Regions from separate parts of the Homo sapiens genome. Here region 1 is linked to region 2. Evidence: promoter capture Hi-C in 16 types of primary human blood cells and fetal thymus (Javierre and others, 2016). All regions are on one chromosome and are shown on one strand. The core of a region is centred on a gene start or on the middle of the fragment in contact, and the rest is flanking DNA. Distances in the headings are between cores, read along the strand shown. Region 1 has its middle 48 kb from the start of TUSC7. Region 2 holds the start of LINC03051 (long intergenic non-protein coding RNA 3051).

Region 1 (4,615 bases), core at 1,253-3,752, 1.2 Mb before region 2:
GTAAATTGATCTTAAAATAAGGAGATTATCCTGGATTACCCAGTTAGGGCTAATGTAAGCAAATGAATCTTTAAGAGCAGAAAAGGACATCAGAGAGATTGGAAGCATGAGATGGGCTCTACCCACCATTGCTGACTTGAACATAAAAAGGGTCACATGGAAAGCCTGAGAAGAAAATGATTATTCTACCCAGTGAGATTGAAAGAGGCTCACAAGCCCCAGATGAGAACCACAGCCCAGCAGATACGTTGATTATAGTTTGCTAAGACTCTGAGCAGAGAATCCAACCACGCTGTGTTGACTTTCTTACCTACAAAACTGTGAGCTAATATAATTATGTTGTCTTAATCTGCTAAATTTGTTATAGTGGCACTGGAAAAAATAATACACTTTCAAAGAAAGGGGTAATGCATTTTTTGTTTTTCCATACCATGTTCTAACCAACACAGAGTAATCTTGAAATGTCCAGAGGGCAGCTGGATATGAAAAACTGGAGCTTGTAAAAGAGAGCAAACCAAAGATACTGACTTTAACTCATGTGGACAAAAGTGATTGTTAACTCTACAGGAACGGATGTATTTACTACATACAACATTTGAGAAAAGCTAGAAGACTAGAAGCACATATGACTAAGTCTTCAGGAATGTCCAGAAGACAAAGGAGAAAGAGAAGAAATGGTCAAAGATTAAGATGAGAATAGGAAAGCATGTATTTTTGGCAACAAAAGTGGCAAAGCTTTGTAAAGAGGAGGTGGTCACACCAGATGGCTTCTATTGTTTCAGTGAAGTGGGAATCAAGATCAATTAAAAGTGCTTATTGGGACATGGAGAAGGAAGTTCTGCAGTAGCCTTTGCAGTGAGAGTCCTAGAGCATTTATTAGAGATAAAGTAAGGGTGCTCTTTGGAAGTGGGGCTAGAAGGATTTTACATGAGCCAGGGGTGTAATAGCATTTGTGTCTTCCTCCAGGATATAATATGAGTCAGGCCAGGAGAGTAGTACGTGACAGGTGATTTTGCTCCAAGCTTGGGTACTAGTACATTGCATACAGCAAAAAATCGATGAAGGAACAATAAACTAAACAATGGCTAGAACAAAGACTGTATTTTTGGAAAGTTCTTATTACAGCAAGGAGCATGCTGAATGCCTGGTTGAAGTTAGGAGAGTTAAATCAATTGAGACCCTAGCAAGAGGGGCAAAAAGGCTTTATGGTGCTAGGAAAATAGAAGAGGTGACAAAGAGCCTCTCTGACTGCAGTGCTCTTCAACATAGATCATCATATTCAGTCTCATCAACTTTAAAATAGAAACTACTTATGCTCATTTTCCAAATAATTTCTATTCCAGAGATAGAAATTCAAAAGTTTATATGACTTATCCAAGATCACACAGCAGGTCAGAAGCATAACTTGGGTTTAAAAGCTTTGCATCTTCCTCTAAGCTCTGCCGAGGTTAAATGTCTGGAAAGTGAAGTAGCAGAGACCAGAATCTCAGATTACAAAGCCGATGCCCTCCCTACCTCATTACGGCATTTTCCAAAACTACATTCTTAGTCACATTTAAGTTCTTTAATATGCATCTTTCTATCTATTGCTCATTTTATTCTCGTGGCAAACATGTGGATGTGAAAATTTTTATTCCTATTATATAGATAGGGAAAATGAGGTTTGGAGAATTGTTAAGTGATCTAACCCAAGTAACACAATTAGTTAGAGTTAGCACTCTTACACCAGCTTTAACCTTACCACCAGCATTTCTTTTCCCCAGTAACAACCAGACCTACATTCTTACCCTCTTTTGCCCTTAATTGTTCTACTGTCTCTTCCTCTCCTGGTTCATGCACTTAAAATCCCAGCGTCAATGTGTCTGTTTCCCACTTGGTTCCATGAGTTTTCCCACTTTGTAAGATAAATGTCACAGCCATCATTTGGTCTCCCAGCTGAGCCCAGAAGCCTTTGGATCCAGCTACTTCTTCCTTTTAGACAGAGTACACCTTCTTTAGAATGAGAAGTGGGATTTGGGTATGGTATGTCCTCCTCACACTGTTTTTCAAATCATATGGAACTGATGCAGTATAATGGGGATACTTTCAGAAGACTGGCAGCTTGTGTAAAAAAGCTGACTAAGTTAATCCGTGTGTGAAATGGAAGAATGCCTCGGGGAACATGACACAGTTTTTAAAAGAGGAGAAATAATAGATACTATAGAGGAGAAGGGAAAGAAAATGAAAGAGAGGAAAATGTGGAAGAGAGAAATAGAGAGAAAAATTTCTTAAAAATCAGAGGAAAAAATGGGGGCTTGCTATAAGGAAATAGATTTTATGAGAATAACTTTAAAAATAAATATAGATAATAATAATAATAAATACCTTTAAAGGCAGGCTAAAAAAATGCATTCTCTCTCCATTTCCCTCTCTCCCCCCTTCAGTTATCAGAGAATGTGTTAGGTAAAACGAATCTAAAAATAATAAACTAAGGTTTACTTTTTCTACATGACCTTGAAATACCTCTTTATTCCCAAGTTTCCATGGAAGGGGATGTAATTACATAAGTGTGAATATGTACTATTTCTTTTTATCTCTTTTCTTGATCTAGTCTACCCTGTCCTTCAAAAAGCTAATGAAATGAGAATAGGTAGGAGGCGACCCATTGAAGGTTAGTAGGTACCATCAGCCACTATATTAATGAGGCCAGGAGATGCCACAGCACAGCCTGGGGAGAAAATGCCTCAACAATGGCCAAGACAACACTGACCATTTCTAGCCTTTGAAAAATACAATGAATCAGAGGCAACATCTGACACTCCACTGGATTTCCGTGACTTCAGGAAATGAGCAAATAATATGCATTTTTCTTTGCATATAGGTAGTGAGCTTCTTTGAAATCAGAGCGATTCTTCCTCCAAAATACTCTTGAAGATAATTTGTTTTCCCGGATCTCTCAGGGCTCCCTTCAAAAACAGGATTTTGGACCTGCTGTGGCCGGACTCTCAATTGTGATATGTAGGCTCCCTCTACTGGACATATGGTTAGTTGCAGCCAGTGTGCGTTTTTAACGAACTTTGATTTCCTATATCCTTGTGACTTATGCATGATTATGGCTAATGAAGTGAGTACCAAGGATAATGCTTCACACACACACACACACACACACACACACACACACACACACACACACACACCATTCTTCTCTGAAAGTCTAGAATGCAGTTGTCTAGTATGAATAATTTAGCACCATTCTCTATTTTCGTTGTGCTTGCTCACTGTATATATGTAGGATTTTTTTTTCTTATTTCACTAACTAGAATAAAATTTATGGGTTGGGGATTCAGAATTTATTTATGCTTTTCATTAATTTCTTTTTAAATTTTGTGGGTACATTGTAGGTATGTATTTATGGGGTACATGAGGTGTTTTGATACAGGCATGCAATGTGAAATAAGCACATGATACTGACCCAAGTTTCAATGACAAGTCTCTACTTATTGGATTGAAGACATGTGTTTTCCACTTACTATTTGTATTACCTTGAGTCAGTTAATTTCTCAGAGCCTTGGATTCCTGATCTTGGGAAATAAAACAATAGGTACTCTAAGCTTGTTGTAAGAATTAAAAGATAAACCATATGTCAATGATACTCACATTTTTCTGGCACAGTAGAATATGATTCTCTAAGCAGTTACCAAACGCTAACTTCCTTTTCATTTGCTGACCTGTCTGTGTGGCCAGGTCAGTGGATTCAATTAGAAATATGTGACTCACATTAGCAAAAACAGTTAGACTTGAAATTATTTCAATTTTAATAAACTCTACCCAAATGAAAAAAGCATATATTTTCAGTATCCTCTCTAACTAGGCAATAGGCTAGGAGCACAGGCTGTAAAAAGGACTCAGATGTCATTGCTGGACTCTTCTCTCATTCTCTCCAGGAACACATGGAGAGGAGAAAATCTGTTTCTTGCTTCTGTATCAGTTTCTGCTCTATGGCATCCCTGGTATTTCTCATTGTAATTGCTCAATAGATGTTTATTAAAATAATCTTCAGTCATTTGTCTTGTTCTCCACCTTCTCCTATGTAAAGTGTAAAATGCATGTCCTTCCAATCCAGGACATCCTGCCATTAAACACATACTTATTTTTCTACTCCACATGTCTCTTTTCCCATTCCCTTCTCTCAACCTTTTGAATACACTTTAATGGTGCTGCCTTCTCACTTTTTACCTTGCATGCTGGGAGCTCCAGATGAGAGATGAAGCAAATATCTTGCTCCATTTGATCTATATACTGTATTGTCGATATTTCTCCCTTTTGAATTATCTTATTCCACAACAAAGACCATCATATACCAACATAGAGAAATAAATATGTGAGCTTAAGACTCACTCAAACCTAGAGAACACAGCTCATTCTCTTAACATGCCTTGAACAAACAGCACCAAATACAACTATAACCATGACAAAGAAACCAGAAGTCTCTGGATTAGTGTGGTGCCACCTGGACTCAGGAGTTTGCAATATTTGGAGGAATCAAATCATGTAATCAAAGTCTGATGCACATTTCATTCTTAACAACTTTATTTAAATTACAGCATAAACTTCCCCATAGAAATGTACTCTGTAG
Region 2 (5,014 bases), core at 2,254-4,753:
ATCTAAAAAACTTTCTTCTGGAAACCTCAGAGACCCTTTATCAATGGAGATGTCATTAATATAAACTACAGTTGCCAGGATATCAAGGATGAAACCTGGCTGGGCCATTATATAACCTTCTCGTCATTGCACAAAAGGTTAGAAGTTCTCCCTACCAACATCACAAGGACATTGCATAGATGAATATACTCAACTATATCAAAGTACTCTAGGATATTTGGAAAAAGAACAACAGAGAAAAAACTATAGTTTTTATTCACATGTGAACACATCTTGACTAAGCTATCTTTTATGATCTATTTCAAAATAATGATAATGATTATTATATCATTCATGAAAAACAGAACATAATTATTACTGAACCTCAAGAATATATGCCCGACTTGCCCATGGTCACAAAATAATGACTTAGACTAAATAGTCTTTTTCTCATGGGGCAAGCCCAAATCATTCTGTAAATATCCCTCCACCTCAGAACCACATAGCCTCAAGTACTTACATTAAACATTCTTGAACAAATGTATTCTAATTAACAATGAACACCAAGAACAGCATTAATCTGTGAATCCATGAACATAATGGTAAGAAACAGCAGAAGCAACTGTGCTGAAGAATGGAGATAGTAAACAAGGGATGGGGCCAATTCAAAAGGGCCACATACTTTGACACTGAGGAGTGTGTACGTGTGTGTCCACATGTACATATGTGTAAGAGAGAGGAGAGCATGTTGTCAGGAAACAGTTCAAGCCCTGCCATGATGATGGCAGGAGATAATGTGTATGGCAGTTGTTTGCGAGTGATCTCCATGTTTCTTAGCCTCATCCAGCTGCACTGCCTTCTTCTCCTATCCCATTACTCAACGTTACTGCTGCCTAGTGTGTGCCACACACTGGGGGATCCCAAAGCTTGAGAACTGAGGCCACTTCCCACAATGTGCTAAACTCTATTTAGCAAAATCTTGAAAACTCCTCTTTAGAAAGAACAATATTCCCGGGGAGGAAAAGCTATTTGCTTTGCCCAAATGAGACCAGAAAATTCAGAGAATTGTTACTATAGTTTACTATGTTATCACTGAAAAAGACTGGGGGGCTTTTTTTTTTAATAGAAGATCTCCTGAAATATAATTATCTGGTTTCGTGTTCCATTACACCTTCCTCATCCTTTAGAAGTACCTTTCACTCATAAGACCCCATGGCTGAGTAATGAATATCCCATAGTTTTACTCAAACTTAAGAGGAGCATGTATTCATGACATCATTCTTAGCATTTTATCAGAAGAGCTAAATTCCTAGAGTTAAATGGAATAGGAAGGAAAGGGATTAACCTCTGCTGCTGGCATAGTACAGTCACGATGCTAATGTCTCAATATGAAAAAGCTGAATTGCAGCAATATCTGAAATCACAGAGAAAGTCCTGTGAGCTTTGAAGGAAAAAATGTAAAGAAATAAAATGTAAAAAGCCAAAGCAAGATTGGGACTCTATTTTTCATTTAGACATGCTTAGTAGAAGAATCATGTATTGCAAGAGCTCACAAATTAGATAGGAGAGGAATGGGTCAGTGAGTTCTGAGATGAGAAAGTTTTTAGAACCTGTAACTTGTAATTGTATTATGGGTGAGTTCCAGCTGTTCCCCTAAGCATATTTTAAACTATAACTTCGACATAGTATTCATTCCCTTGCAATGCTTCAACAGTAAACAGCCAGGGAGTCTATTCTCTTTTCATTTAGCAAGAGGGCTTTATAGCTACACAAAATATCCCCCAGCAATGAAAAATGAAACCCACCAATGTAACATTAGCAACCAGCTGTCAGAAAAAAATCAGGAGTAGGATTGCCAGTCTGGTCATTTCATGCCAAGTGTTCTTGAGAGGCAGTGTGTGTGCGTATGTGTCTTTGTGTGTGCATGTGTACACTGTGTGTAAATGGAGTGTGTTCTGTAGCATGAGAGATGTGCGTGGGTAAATGTCCTAATGATGGCAGAATGCCCAAACATGAAGATGTAGTAGAACCGTCAGTGGTAGAGCAATATAGCACAGACTCTCTATGGCTAATTGTGCAAGGTTCCTCTCACGAGCAGGAAGAGTGAGACAGGAAGATTAAAAAGATAATATATTTTTATGTTGGAATTACTTCGTGTATTATAGGTATGTTTAACATCAGTGAGGGCTCTGGATGCCAGCTTGTAAGTGAAATGCAAACACCATGTATGTATTTTCATTTTTAACCTTCATGAATTTATTTTACAACCTCCCCAAAACATAGAAACCTACAATCCCTTCAAAGTAAACACCCAGCGCTAGCAATTTTGTCCTGCAAGCATGAAATACATTGACCATTATGAGCCAGCGCAGCGATTACCCGTGAATTCTCGTATTCATTCTCTCTCTCTCTCTCTCTCTCTCCCCCACCCCACTCTCTTCCTCCCTCCCTCTTCTCCTCCTCCCCCCCTCCCCGTGTCCCCCTCCCCCCACCCCACTCACCGTTCCCTTCCCTCCCGCATCCCTCCTCCATCTCGGGGCAGAAGAATCTGGTGGGGCTATTTTGCAGAGAGATACAAGTACCAGGTGCCAAGCGGATACCTAGCCTCCTAAACTTAATGCCAATTCCCTCCTGAAAGAGGAGGAATGCAGTGATATCAGCACCGGGGACACGGGGATAGCGAACACCACCGCGGCTCTTGGAGTTTACAGAGGAGCAACCCCAGCTCCGTCGCCACCACCTCGCGCAAAAGCCCCCACCCCACCAAGACACACACACACACACACACACACACACACACACACACACAAAACACGCCGCTCTATCCTGCCCCCCGTTCACACGCGCGCGCGCACACACACACACACACACACACACACACACACACACACACAAGCCCTGGCTTCTTTCCCCATCAACACCGATGTTGCAGCAAGTCTGTCCGCACAATCCCGCACGCCTCAGGACCCAGCCTGGGCGCAGAGCTGGCAGGGCAGGGAGCGCACCGCAGGACTTGTAAATAAACCCTGTTCCATCCAGAACCGGAGCGCTTCTTACTCCACCGACCACCCCGGAGCCCGGCGGCAGGGAGGAGGGGGCGCAAGGGGTCAGGGAATCCTCCCCCTACCTTGCAATGAGAAGAGGGACAGGAAAAAGCCCAGCACCCAGACGCTGTGCAGCCAGTAGGTCCTCATGTCTCCGCTGCGCTCGATGCTCCCTCGCGCGCTCCTGCTCTCGCCTCTTCCGCTCGCGCTCTCTCTAGTAAAACGCGCCGCTCCTTTCCCTCGGTTTCCCTCTGGGTTCTCCTGGTTCCGGCAACCCGGACAGACAAGCCTCTTGCCGCACGACGGCCGGATCCCAGAACAGCCTTGCTCTCCTCTTCGGGAGCGCAAGCCAGGGGCCGGGATGGACGCTCGTAGCCCGTGCCTGGTGTAAACACACCGAGCCCCCTTGTCCCTCGAGCTCTCCCGCTTTCCTGCTTCCTATCCTCCTCTCCCTCACTCCCCTGCAGCTTCAACTAAATGCGATGTACTTAAACAAGCAGCGCCTTATAGGACCGCGAACCGAGCCGAAAGGGCCCCGCTACTGCCATCTAGTGCTCACAGAACGGCATCGCCGCGGCTCTTCTTCGCTGTGTGTCTGTGCCAAGTCTATCCAACGCCGCCAAAGTCCCCTCTGCTCTCAGCAAACACAGGTGAAGCTCTTGCCTTCTTAAATCCTTGACTTGACCTTGCTGTCCCATAAGTCCTGAATTTCTCCTTTTCACGAGGAAGCTCTTGGAACATGCTAGCCGCACATCTTCATCACCTCATTGCTCCTCTCCCTCTCAGAAATCTCCAGTGCTTTCCTAACAACTCTATGGAAATTTTTCTCCAAATGTCACCATGACCTCCACCAAAAAGTCCAATGGCCTTTTGAAGCCTCATCCTACTTGATTTTGATGCTGCGCTTCACAGCGTGTGCCATTCCTTTTTATTTGATTTCAAAGTCACTGGGTCAAAACAATTCTGGCACTTCTGACCTTCCCTCCAAGAGCCCTCTGGGTTCCTCTGCACTTCTTGGTTTATATCTTCTGTTATAATTTCTTTAAGTTACTTGGAAATAAAAGGTCTATTACAGCTACACGAGGATGGAAACCTCCACCACTAACCTCGTGCTTAGCCCTCAGCTTAGACTTCCCAGCTGGGTACCAAGCATCTCAAACTGGATGACTCAGGGCCAGGGCTGAGTTGGGTGAGTAGGCAGATGGGGCCGCTCTGAAGAGCACTGACTAGTAGTTAGGAAAGCTGGATTTCAGTTCTGTTACTGTGGCCTCCACTCGTTGGGGACCTTAACTAAGTCATTCAATCTCTGAATTTCATTTTATTCATCCATGTATTTACATGATAATGAATATTGGTCCCTTCCAACTGTTTGTAATATCTATGCTAGGTTTCTCCACCTTGGCACTACTGACATACTGTACCAGATAATTCTTTACTGTGTGGGGCTGTCTTGTGCACTATAGGATTTATAGCAACATCCCTAGCTTCTGTCCACCAGCTGACAGTAGCACAACCCTCATCCTCCTAGTTATGACAACCAAAAACATCTCCAGGCATTGCCAAATGCCCCCTGGAGGGAAAAACTGACCCAGTTGAGAACTTCTTATCTATACCCACGTGATTTTCTTCAGGAATTATTCCCCTTTTCCAACTTCCCTGTTTCACAGGCTTCAAGAACTTTTAGAAGTATATTTAATTCTCTCTTCTCCAATTTCAGTTGATCATCAGTCTCACCACGACAATGTGTAAATGTGTCTAAGATGTCTCTATGTTTTTTTTTCAGTTTTACTGCCACCTTTTTCATAATAAACACGTGTTGTGCATTATACTTTCTGAAATACTTTTAATTATCTCTAATGCTGTGATATGTTCAAGGGCTATGTTAGCTCTTCGAGCATTAGTGGGAAATGCAGACAAAGACAAGTTAAGTGACTTTTCTTATGACATACGATAGGCCAGTGAAAGCAACATTAGCAGACCTGAAGGAGGTC

What was found. The method cuts DNA at HindIII sites, captures the fragments that hold promoters and counts their contacts. A CHiCAGO score of 5 or more calls a contact.
Region 1: a fragment that was not itself captured here is called in contact with the fragment with the promoter of LINC03051 in region 2 in 5 of 17 cell types (monocytes, M0 macrophages, M2 macrophages and 2 more); the score reaches 11.4 in monocytes.

What each region holds. Positions count from the first base shown.
Region 1 is chr3:116,755,387-116,760,001 of GRCh38, forward strand. No RefSeq gene overlaps it. Among named protein-coding and RNA genes, the nearest start is that of TUSC7, 48 kb to the left of the region's middle. The HindIII fragment of the contact is 2,172 bases long and covers 1,417-3,588 here.
Region 2 is chr3:117,994,076-117,999,089 of GRCh38, forward strand. It overlaps LINC03051 (long intergenic non-protein coding RNA 3051), which reads right to left and starts at 3,504. Exons shown (of 3, transcript NR_182298.1): 1 at 3,107-3,504. RefSeq lists an enhancer at 3,175-3,721. The HindIII fragment of the contact is 6,554 bases long and covers 904-5,014 here.